Linked DNA regions of Homo sapiens: all the other regions are linked to region 3. The links are contacts of gene promoters, found by promoter capture Hi-C in blood cells and fetal thymus (Javierre and others, 2016). All regions are on one chromosome and are shown on one strand. The core of a region is centred on a gene start or on the middle of the fragment in contact, and the rest is flanking DNA. Distances in the headings are between cores, read along the strand shown. Region 1 has its middle 14 kb from the start of LINC03004. Region 2 has its middle 35 kb from the start of LINC03004. Region 3 holds the start of IL20RA (interleukin 20 receptor subunit alpha).

Region 1 (3,606 bases), core at 784-3,283, 610 kb before region 3:
TGTGGTTACAGGCCACACCCTCAGGACATATGCCCTCAGGACATAAAACAAGATGGAGGTGTGCAGCAAAGTTTGCTACTGACCACACAGACATGCAAAGCATACCACATTGGCTACAGCTTAAGACCAACCTCACAAATCCTTTTTCACAATTAAAACTTTACAGAGAATATAAACATAATTAGTCCACATAAATAGGTGGACTAAATTATGATAATGATCCTTATCATTCCTAGCCTAAGAAAATGTCTTCTAAAAGGAAAAATAAACTCATTTAAAAGTTAACTGCTGATGGAGTGGAGAAGAAAAAGGGATGCCTGGGGGAAAAACCTCTTATTCTTATGCAAATAGTTCCTCCACCCTAGAGAGAAGCTTAATTGCTGTCTGATGGGGTTGGACTCCCTGGCTGGGGGAGGGGGAGACTCCATGGGTGCCTGGCAGGGAATACCGCCAGCTGCATGGGATCCCTTGGGGCTCAGGCAGCTGCTGTGGCTCATTCCCACCCTTGGCTCATTCCATTGTTAATGGCTGTTGGACACTGTGCATACATGCGGCAGACTCAGCCATGCACCCCAGACAGTAGAGAATGGGGAGCAGGGAGCTGCCCCACCCAACTGTCCCATACACATGCCTGTGGCCATTGGGGTGTGTGTGAACCACCTCCAGTATTGTAAAAAAAAAAAAAGTTTTCATGTCATTAATGTCCTGAAAAAAAGAAGAGGAATGCCATAGGACCAAAAGGCTCAGAAGCGAATGTGAGAGGTTTTGAGTCCCCATTTCACTCACCCCTTCTCAAGCCCTATGTTCTGGGCACCAAAGCTGTTGTAGGACTTTTTCCTTAGTTGAGCTAAAGACAGCGTCCTTGCCACATGACCAAGAAAAATTAATCTCACAGACAGTTTGAAGGGTGAGGAGGGTAGTGTTTTATTGGGTGAAAAGGAAAAAAACTCAGCAAAGTGAGAGAGGCTCCCCATCTCACAGACTGAGTCCCCAGGTTATCACACTGGATCAGGAGAGGCCAGCCAGGCTCTTCCTCCCCTGCAAATGGCGCAAACTTCCTGAGGCTCCGCCCCAGTGCACACTCCTCACAGTGCACAGGCCAGTTGGAATTTCTCCGGGGACCCCTTTATACTTGGCTGTCTTGGTGAGTCACTTTGTAGGCCAAATAACTGAAAGGTCTTCAATCAATACAAAGACTTGAGATAGTAAATATAAAGCTTCAGGCAGATTATTTCAGTAGATTGTGGCTTCTGCTCTCCAAATATAAGGTTAGAGGGTCATATGGCATGATGAACAAAGCCCCTTCTAGGTAAAACACACTGTCAGTCAGTGCCAGCATTGCCCACAGAATTCCTGTCCCTATCTCTCTGCCATCCCACACCACGCCACATCATCCTTGGCCTATTCTCCCCTACAGGACTTTGCATGTGGCATGCAGACAGTCTCCCTTTTCATTTGTTTTCTAAGGCATTATGTGATCACCCAGAGAAGGAGTAAGCTTCATTCAGGTTCCTGTCCTTCTACTTTGGGCCCCAGAATCTGGTCTGCTGTCCATGGATTCAGGGAGTGACAAGGGGATAATGCCTGCTAAGACATTCTCATCTTCAGTTGAGGTGTCCTTTTTTTTTCATTTAAGAATTTTTTTTTATTGAAGTGCAGAAAGTTGCACATATTCGTTGCATACCACTCAACAAATTTTAATCAACTGACCCATCACCTGATTAAGCAATAGACAATTACCTGTACCTGGCAACTCCCTACCTGCTCTTTCAAACCTTCCCCACCCCCGCAACAAAGGTCAGCACTACCTGTGTTGTAACCGAGCGAGTTATAGAGAAACACCACACTTTGAGACTAATTCAGGAGTCCTTTATTGCCGGGGACCGAGAGACGACTAGAGCTCAAAAATTCTCTCAGCCCCGAAGAAGGGGCTAGATTTCTTTTTATACCTTGGTCTAAATAGGGGAGGGGGAGTCTAGCTGAAGCAATTTTTACAAAAGCAGAACAGGCAAAAAGTAAAAGATAAATGGTTACAGAAACTGTTACAGGAAAATAAAAAGTTCCAGGTGCAGGGGCTTAAGCTATCACAAAGTGATAAACGCAGGGGCTTTGGGTACCATCAACCAAGCACGTTTCCAGGAGTGGGTAGTACAGCTTGCCTCAGTATCTTATCAGTAAGCAATTCCTGGATGTACTTGGAGTTAGCTTGCACCAGTTATGTCCTTAAGCAGGGGGAACGAGGGGCTGCAAGCGAAGAAACCAAAGTGGAGTCTGTCCTGCTCTCTCAGATAAGAGAGAGTCAATCAGGTTAAAACAAGGTAGGGTATCACACCTGGACTTCTCCCAGCACAGATTTGTTTGATCTGCTTTTGAACTTTGTATAAATGGACTCAGACAGCTTACATGTTTTTGTGTCTTGCTTCTTTTTTCAACAATATGATTGTGAGATTTATCCATCTGTTGCATACAGTAGTAAATTGTTTATTCTCATTGCTGGATCATATTCCATTTGATTAATATTTCTGATTACTTTATTCCTTCCACTATTAATGTCAATGGGAAGCTTCCAGTTCAGGTCTATTACAAATAGCACTGCTATAAATAAATACTCCTCTTTTTAGGTGATCACATGTTCCTATTTCTGTTGGGTGAGCACCTAGGAATAGAATTGCTAGGTCATAGGCTATGCATAAGTTCAGCTTTAGTAAATATTGTTTGTTTTTTCACTTCTTTCTCCTCCTCCTTCTCCCTTTTCTTCCTTAAGCATCTTTTTGACAACAACAACAACAAAAAAAACCCATGCATGCTGGCCTCATAGCCTCATGTTTATAGATAAACTGCCACCAGCTTGATTGCCGAAATTAGCCAGCCTCAGGCTATTCTCCTGCCGTTTTGAAAAGGCCAGCTCCTTTTCACTCTCTCATCCTGCAGGGTAAAGTGGCCATCAGCCTTGTACATATTTCATGTTAGCTTAAGGGTCTCTATTGCTGATCCTGAACTTTGCAGAGACAAAATTCTGCTAAAAGATAGATGGATAGAGAGAGAGAGACAGAGATGATAGATAGACAGGTAGATAGATAGATAGATAGATAGATAGATAGATAGATAGATAGAATATATAATCTATAAATTATATATACTGTTATATATGTGTATATATACACATGTATATATACACTTATGTATACACACCTAGATAGGTAGATAGAATATATATCTATATATTATACTAGAATATGTACTAAGTTATATATGTATATATACCTATGTATACACACATAGATAGAATATATAATCTATATATTACATATACTAAATTATATATGTGTATATATACACGTGTATATATGCATATGTAAACACACATAGGTAGAGAGATAGATAATAGGTATAATATATATCTATATATTATAACATATACTAAGTTATGTATATGTGTTTGTGTGCATATATATATGTGTATATATATATATGTATAGATAGATAGATAGATAGGCATCAAGAGGCTCTGAGTTTGAATCCTCCTTCCATTCTTTGTTACTGAGTGACCTTGAGCAAGTCAGTCAACTGCTGTTTTCTCCCTTTTCTTATCTGTACATTTAGATT
Region 2 (3,586 bases), core at 737-3,236, 590 kb before region 3:
ACATAATAGAGCAGGTGTCCTGCTGGGAGAAGGAGCGGGAAGAGCTCTGCCATGGAGCAGATATGAATCAGGGAGGACTAAATTCCCAGTCTCCCTTGACTCTTTCTCACTTGGCCGGTGAATTAGTGGAAAAAGATAGAAAGACACAGGAAGAAACCAAGTACTTCCTAAGGCATCCCTGGCCTAGGCTGTGTTGGTCTGTGTTGCTCTGTCAGATCAGCAGGGGCATCAGATTCTCACAGGAGCATGAGCCCTACAGTGAACTGCATGTGAGGGATCTAGGTTGCCAACTCTTTATAAGAATCTAGTGCCTGATGATCTGAGGTGGAACAGTTTCATCCTGAAACCATCCCCCGCCACCCTCCATCCATGGAAATTTGTCTTCCATGAAACCAGCCCAGTTGGTTTCTATTACAGAGTTTAAGAGTAATCTAGGCAAGGGCCAAAGTTAGCACATTTCAGAAATGGTATTAAGACCTGCACTGTATCTGGGTGAGGAAACAATACTTATGTTTTATTTTCAGAGTCCCCTCTGATTCAGAGCAGACTAGGGGAGGAGTGGGAGCAGAGCTGAAAGTGAACTTGCAGTAGACCACCATACACTTCAAGGAGAATTGACTTTTTCCCTAACAGAAAAAGGGAAAGTTTCATGCTTTAAACTGTAGAGTACATGCCTGTGTGTCTTTTATTTTTCACTTATGTTTAATTAGATCTGAGAACAGGCTTACTGCTAAAGCTTAAATAATTAACTAGCATTTATTTGTAAAAGATAGATGGCCATAACATCATCTAGCAAAGTGGAGAAAATATAACTGGATTCTGTCTCTATCAAGAACATCCAGAAAGAGAGAGAGGTAACCTGGAAACTCTGTCAGAGGATAGTTCTTAGTCAAGGTAATCGCACAATACAACCTCTGCTTTACCATATAAGGAAATTAAACTTCTGGCTCCAGTTGCTGCCAGAAGTACTGACTATGGTAACTCCTGCTGTACAGCTCTGGCTCATCAGACCCTGCAACTCCAGCTTCCTTCCAGCCCTAAGGTGGTAGCAGCTTGCTGCTATTGTATTGCTAAGCACTGGGTTGTTTCTCGCTGCTCCTTATTTGGCTTCTCAGCTTTCCCATTATTGGTGAAACCAATTCCCTGTAACAAACTTTCTCATTGTGAAATATCTATGATGGTTTCTGGTTTTGTTTTTGTTTTCTTCCCAGTGGGTATCTGAATGCTATAGAGAGAATAAGAGAACTCTATACACACTTTAGAAATGAGAAAGAGAAAGTCCTATTTCTATCTTCCTATTTTAACATTGTTTAGGCTATTATTTCGTTATTTTGTGTCTTTCTTAATAGGTAGCTTTATGAAGCAAGCAATACATCAGCAAACAGATCTTGAGCACTTCCTTTCTATAGTGTACTTTAGTCATCTCTAAAAAATAATCTGATAGAACTGTTGCTTTCAGCTCACTATCACAGCAAACAATTGCAGCTCACCCTGATAAAGATAGCTGCAAATGGAATTTCCTGGACTCCACCTGTCTTCTGAGGCTTTCAGCTGTCTATGCCATATCCTCTCACATCCAGACACAAGAGTAGAGGCTGGAGCATTGTCACAGCACCTTAGGACCTTCCACGTCCTGCCTAAGTATTTCACTGACCACTGTGAGCCCAGGAATTGCCAAGGGAGCAAGTCCAACCACAGCTGCAGCAGAGTGCACTGACAGGGCAGGCCCATAATGGGCACTTGCCCATCTGTTGTGCAGTTAGTTTTTGGCCTTTTTAATAGAGTAGTGTTAGAAACATTGTAACAACTGAACATCCACACCTAAGGGGTCAGAGATGGCCTCATTAATAGGGGACCCTAAGGCAGCCCTTACTTGAAACTCTCCAAGAGAGATATACGTGTATTTTCTGTCCTTCAGAAAATGCAATTTTTTTCTGGACACATTTCTAATGATTTCACTTAATAACCACGTTTTATGTAGCTTTGAATTACTAGAGCTATCTAGTTATTATGAACCACAGGATACGATGTCAGAATCTCAAAGCACAAGAGAAATAGGACTAACTAACTTATACAAAGTAATTTGGAATTTGCAAAGTACTTTCACACTCATTAGCTCAATTTTTTTTTTTGAGATGTAGCCTTGCTCTGTTGCCCAGGCTGGTGTGCAGTGGTGCGGTCTCAGCTCACTGCAGCCTCTGCCTCCCGGGTTCAAGTGATTCTCCTGCCTAGCCTCCCGAGTAGCTGGGACTACAGGTGTGCACTGCCGTGCCTGGATACATTTGCTTTTGTAATTTTGGTAGAGACAGGGTTTCACCATGTTGGCCAGGCTGGTCTCAAACTCCTGACCCCAAGTGATCTGCCCGCCTCAGCCTCCCAAAGTGCTAGGCATAAGGTACCGCACCTGGCCCATTAGCTCAATCTCGCTGATGGTTTTGGACATTGTTCTGGCAAAAAAAGATGAGGCCTAGAAGTGCTACCTCAAACAAATGATTTCAGAATTAAAATGAGGCAATATTTTAAGTACTTTCTACTCCTGCATGGGCAAAGTCATTTTTTTTGATACAAATATTTTCTGTCTTTTGGAGAACCCTCTATAGCAGTGGCTCCCAACCTTTTTGGCACCAGGGAGTAGTATCGTGGAAGACAATTTTTCCGTGGAAGTGGGTTTGGGGAGGGGATGGTTTTGGGGTGAAACTGTTCCCACCTCAGATCGCCAGGCACTAGATTCTTATAAGTAGCCGGCAACCTAGATCCGCCGTTCACAATAGGGTTCATGCTCCTATGAGAATCCAATGGCCCCACTGATCTGACTGGAGGCGTGGAGCACAGGCGGTAATGCTCACCCACCCACGGCTCACCTCTTGCTGTGAGGCCTGTTCCTGACAGGCCACAGACCAGTATGGATCCATGGTCCCGGGGGTTGAGGACCCTTGCTCTGTAGCATACATTTGAGATCTCGTCTTATTCTAATTGTTGCAAGCAATACAACATCAGAATTTCTGGTTATGGAGTCTTGGGCCTCTTTTTACTGATTTGGAAGGAAATTTTCAAAATTTGCCTAGTTAAGCAGTTGACTCCTTTTGCTTTAGTGAGCTCAGTCTTATTATATCCAGTGTTCTTGCTATATCTCTTGATAATGAGGCTTTATACATATATATATATACACACACACACACAATCATACATACGTGTATAATGATACCTGTATATATGTATAATAATAATGAAGCTTTGTATATAAAGCCTTATCATATAAAGCCTGTGTGTGTGTATATATGTGTGTGTATATATATATATACACACATACACATACATATATATATATACACATACACATACATATATATATACACACATACTGACAGGCCACAGACCATATATATATATGTGTGTGTGTGTGTATATATGTGTGTGTGTATATATATATATATACACATACACATACATATATATATACACATACACATACATATATATACACACACATACTGACAGGCCACAGACCATATATGTATATGTGTGTGTATATAATGTGTACACACACACGTACACATTACTATATATATATAGTGACAGTGTAATT
Region 3 (3,831 bases), core at 645-3,144:
AAAGAAAAAGAAAAAGAAAAAGAAAACAATAGTTGCTCTAATTTGAGTGTCGTTTCCCTTTATTGGAGCATTTGAAAACAGACATTTAAGGGCAAAAGAGATGGAACACATCTGAGGTAAATCGTGTATCTATCTTCAGGCTGTGCCCAACCTTTAGAACCACCTAGAAAGGTACAAAGCTGAGAGCCTCTCTCAGATTTTTCATATAGTATTTCAAGACTCACCTCTTAATTGCACCCTTCCCCCCTCCCATTATAAAGAGCATGGAACCTAGGACCCACCGCCTTGTGTGGAAGTCCACACACCACTGGTCACAGGCCACTCACAGGTTTGGGGGACTTCATGATGATTCCTAGACTTTCTGAGTTTCCCTTGCCTCATCTGAAAAAAGGGCCAGGACCTAACTGCAGGTTGTGAGAGTTGAATGAAATCAAATAACAACTTTTCAGTCAGTGACAGACTGCATATACAAAGGTGGTCTCATACGATTATAATAGAGCTGAAAAAATTCCTATTGTCTCTAAAGACCTTCCAGGAGGACAGGATGTGAGGTGGCATCAGTGGCACTGACAATCCTGACCCTGTGCAGGCCTAGGCTAATGTGTGTGGTTGTGCCTTAGTTTATAACAAAAAAGTTTAAAAAGTAAAGAAAAAATAAAGAAAAAGAAAAATTTAAAAATAGAAAAAGCTTATAGAAAGAATACAAAGAAAAAATATTTTCATACTGCTGCACAATGTGTTTGTGTTTTAAGTCAAACGTTATTACAAGTCAAAAAGTTTAGGTCGGGTGTCGTGGTTCACGCCTGTAATCCCAGCACTTTGGGAGGCCAAGGAGGGTAGATCACCGGAGGTCAGGAGCTCGAGACCGGCCTGGCCAACATGGCGAAACCCAGTCTGTACTAAAAATACAAACAAATTAGCCGGGCGTGGGGGCACACACATGTAATCCCAGCTACTCTGGAGGGTGAGACAGGACAATCATCAAAACCGGAAGGCAGAGGTTGCAGTGAGCCGAGATCGCACCACTGCACTCCAGCCTGGGCTACAGAGCAATGCTCCATCTCAAAAATAAATAAATAAATAAAGTTTAAAAGATTTAAAAGTAGAAAGTAAAAAATCATAGTAAGCTAAGGTTAATTTATTATTATTGAAGAAATAATTTTTTAATAAATTTAGCATAGCCTAAGTGTAATACAGTGTTTATACAGCCTATAGTAGTACACAGTGATGTCCTAGGCCTTCACATTGACTCACCACTCACAGACTCAGCCAGAGCGACTTCCAGTCCTGCAAGCTCCATTCATGGAAAGTGCCCTATACAGGTGTACCATTTTTAAAATCTTTCATACTGTACTTTTGCTGTACCTTTTCTACGTTCAGACATGTTTAGATACACAAATATTTACCATTGTGTTACAATTGCTTGCAGTATTCAGTATGGTCACTTGCCGTACAGGTTTGTAGCCTAGGAGCAAACAACAGCCTGTACCATATAGCGTAGGCGTGTAAGAGGCTATACCATATAGGTGTGAGTACACTCTAAGATGTTCACACAAGAAACTCGCCTAAGACATTTCTCAGGAGGTAATCCTGTCATCTTAAATGATGCATGACTGTAAGATCTACGGCTGAGTGCCTAACTGTATATCGAGAAATAACGCTCTATTTCATCCGTCTTCCGATATTGAACTTTAACTGACCATCAGACCGGCCTGAATACCAGAATCTCTTTGCAATGCACTCGCCTCGCTCATTACCAGAAGGAGGTTTTACCTGCCTAGTGACCTGGTTGGTCTGGGCATGAACCCCGAGAGGTGGAAACTCTCAGACTCTCAGGACTGACAGCCGAGTGGCTGGGGACTATAAATCCGCGAGAACTGCCCTCGCGCTGCCATCCAGCTGGGTAGCCGGGGGAGCGCGCGTGGGGGCTCCGCGAGTCGCTCGCCCTTGGTTTCTGGGGAAGCCTGGGGGACGCGGCTGTGGCGGAGGCGCCCTGGGACTCAGGTCGCCTGGAGCGTGGCACGCAGAGCCCCAGGCGCGGAGCTGAGGCCGCGCGGCCGCGCTTGGCCCCAGCGGGCGTGGGACTGAGCAGTCTGCTGCCCCCCGACATGTGACCCAGCCCCGCCGCCCATGCGGGCTCCCGGCCGCCCGGCCCTGCGGCCGCTGCCGCTGCCGCCGCTGCTGCTGTTGCTCCTGGCGGCGCCTTGGGGACGGGCAGGTAGGTGGGTCGCGCCGCCAGGTGCGGGTCGGGGATGCCTCCAGGCCGGGGCCCCGCCAGGCAGAGCTCGAGGCCGAGCTCTCCCCTCCTGCCCGCCGGCCAGGTTTCGCTTTCGGGCGGGCAGAGGACGAGGTGCGCGGAGGCCGGAGCTTCCAGCCCCGGGGCTGCAGGGAGCCCGGGGGACACTCGCCGTCGCCTCGCGCACCTTGGCTCGGGGTCAAGTTTGCAGGACTCCGCGCTCCGCACTTTCGGTCTCGAGAATTGAGGTGGGGTGGGGGGAGTTCGGTGGGGGGTGCGCTCTGCGCGGTGCCCACAGCCTATGACTTGCGGTCGGGGACGGTTACCATGCGGGGCCCCTCGCCGGCCAGTCCCAGGTTCCCGCCACCACCGCCGCGGCCGCGCGGAGGGGCCCCTGTGGATGCCGCGTCTCGGCCGCCGGGCCCCGCAGTCCTGCAAGCCGCGCGTCGCGAGATCCGCGCTTTAAAAGCCAAACTCCCCGAAAGGGTCAGCCCCGAAGGAACATGATCCAGAAAGACGCAGCTTCTTAAAGTAAGCTCCCCCTGTCCTGGGTACGCCGTTGTTTCCTTTGCAGTTATGACCATGTACAGATAGTGCTCTTTGATTTTTCAGAAATAACAAAACTTTTAACTCGTTTACGACATAAGGTAACTGAAGAGCTCTTTCGTTTTGTTTGGTTTTTAAGTTTAAATTCTCTACCAATTGGAATCCAGTAAACCAGAATGATTCATTAACCTGATTGCTTTTTTTCCCTGTATTTCTCGTACATGAGAAAAAGATTTTTTAAAAAAACAAAAAAGATATCCGGGATCCCTTTTTAAAAAAATTATTTTAAAAAACAACAACAAAGCTTCTCCAAATACTGTGCTTTGTAGACACTTCGTTCAGGCCCCGCTGTCTTTTAACCCAGAACTGAACAGTAAGAGTGAATGCAGGAAGAAAGTTGACGGTGAATCTGGAGTCCTTGGTAGTTAAAGAAAAAGTTAAATTCAATATAGTTACAACAATAAGAAAAGTATGCACACAGATCTTGGAGAGATTTTGAACGATAGCTATTATACATAAAATATTTTATCTTTTAAATTTATCAGAAATTATAGTTATTTTTCCTTTTAATATTCCCGGGTAGACTGAATGGGAAGAAACGACTGACGTGCAAATATTGAGCCTTCAACTAACAGACAGAAATTTGTTTTTATTTTTAATCGAAGAGAGAAGCTGGGCGCTGTGGCTCACACCTGTAATCCTAACACTTTGAGAGACAGAGACATAGGCAGGAGGATGGCTTGAGGTCAGGAGTTTCAGACCAGCCTGGGCAACATACGGAGACCCCTGTCTATACTAAACATTAAAAAAATAAAAATAAAAAACTAGCCAGACGTGGTGGCAAAAACCTGTAGTCCTAGCTACTCCGTGTGCCCAGGAGTTCCAGACTGCAGTGAGTTATGATCACGCCACTGCACTCCAGTCTGGCCAAGGGTGAGACCCTGTCTTTGGGGAAAAAACCAAAAACAAAGAAAGTGAGAGAGAGAAATAAAATTGTTGGGTGCTGACATTACCAGGTAGTAATGTTCTTGACTTCAAAATAAAATTTA

The links. The method cuts DNA at HindIII sites, captures the fragments that hold promoters and counts their contacts. A CHiCAGO score of 5 or more calls a contact.
Region 1: a fragment that was not itself captured here is called in contact with the fragment with the promoter of IL20RA in region 3 in 2 of 17 cell types (naive B cells and total B cells); the score reaches 5.4 in naive B cells.
Region 2: a contact is called between a fragment that was not itself captured here and the fragment with the promoter of IL20RA in region 3, in 4 of 17 cell types (total B cells, monocytes, naive B cells and 1 more). The highest score is 7.2, in total B cells.

The regions. Positions count from the first base shown.
Region 1 is chr6:137,649,948-137,653,553 of GRCh38, reverse strand. No RefSeq gene overlaps it. Among named protein-coding and RNA genes, the nearest start is that of LINC03004, 14 kb to the left of the region's middle. RefSeq lists enhancers at 93-609, 2,659-2,828. The HindIII fragment of the contact is 1,065 bases long and covers 1,501-2,565 here.
Region 2 is chr6:137,628,911-137,632,496 of GRCh38, reverse strand. No RefSeq gene overlaps it. Among named protein-coding and RNA genes, the nearest start is that of LINC03004, 35 kb to the left of the region's middle. The HindIII fragment of the contact is 2,496 bases long and covers 739-3,234 here.
Region 3 is chr6:137,043,028-137,046,858 of GRCh38, reverse strand. IL20RA (interleukin 20 receptor subunit alpha) reads left to right here and starts at 1,894. Exons shown (of 7, transcript NM_014432.4): 1 at 1,894-2,218. The coding sequence starts at 2,131. RefSeq lists silencers at 2,082-2,141, 2,172-2,281, 2,352-2,401. The HindIII fragment of the contact is 2,398 bases long and covers 691-3,088 here.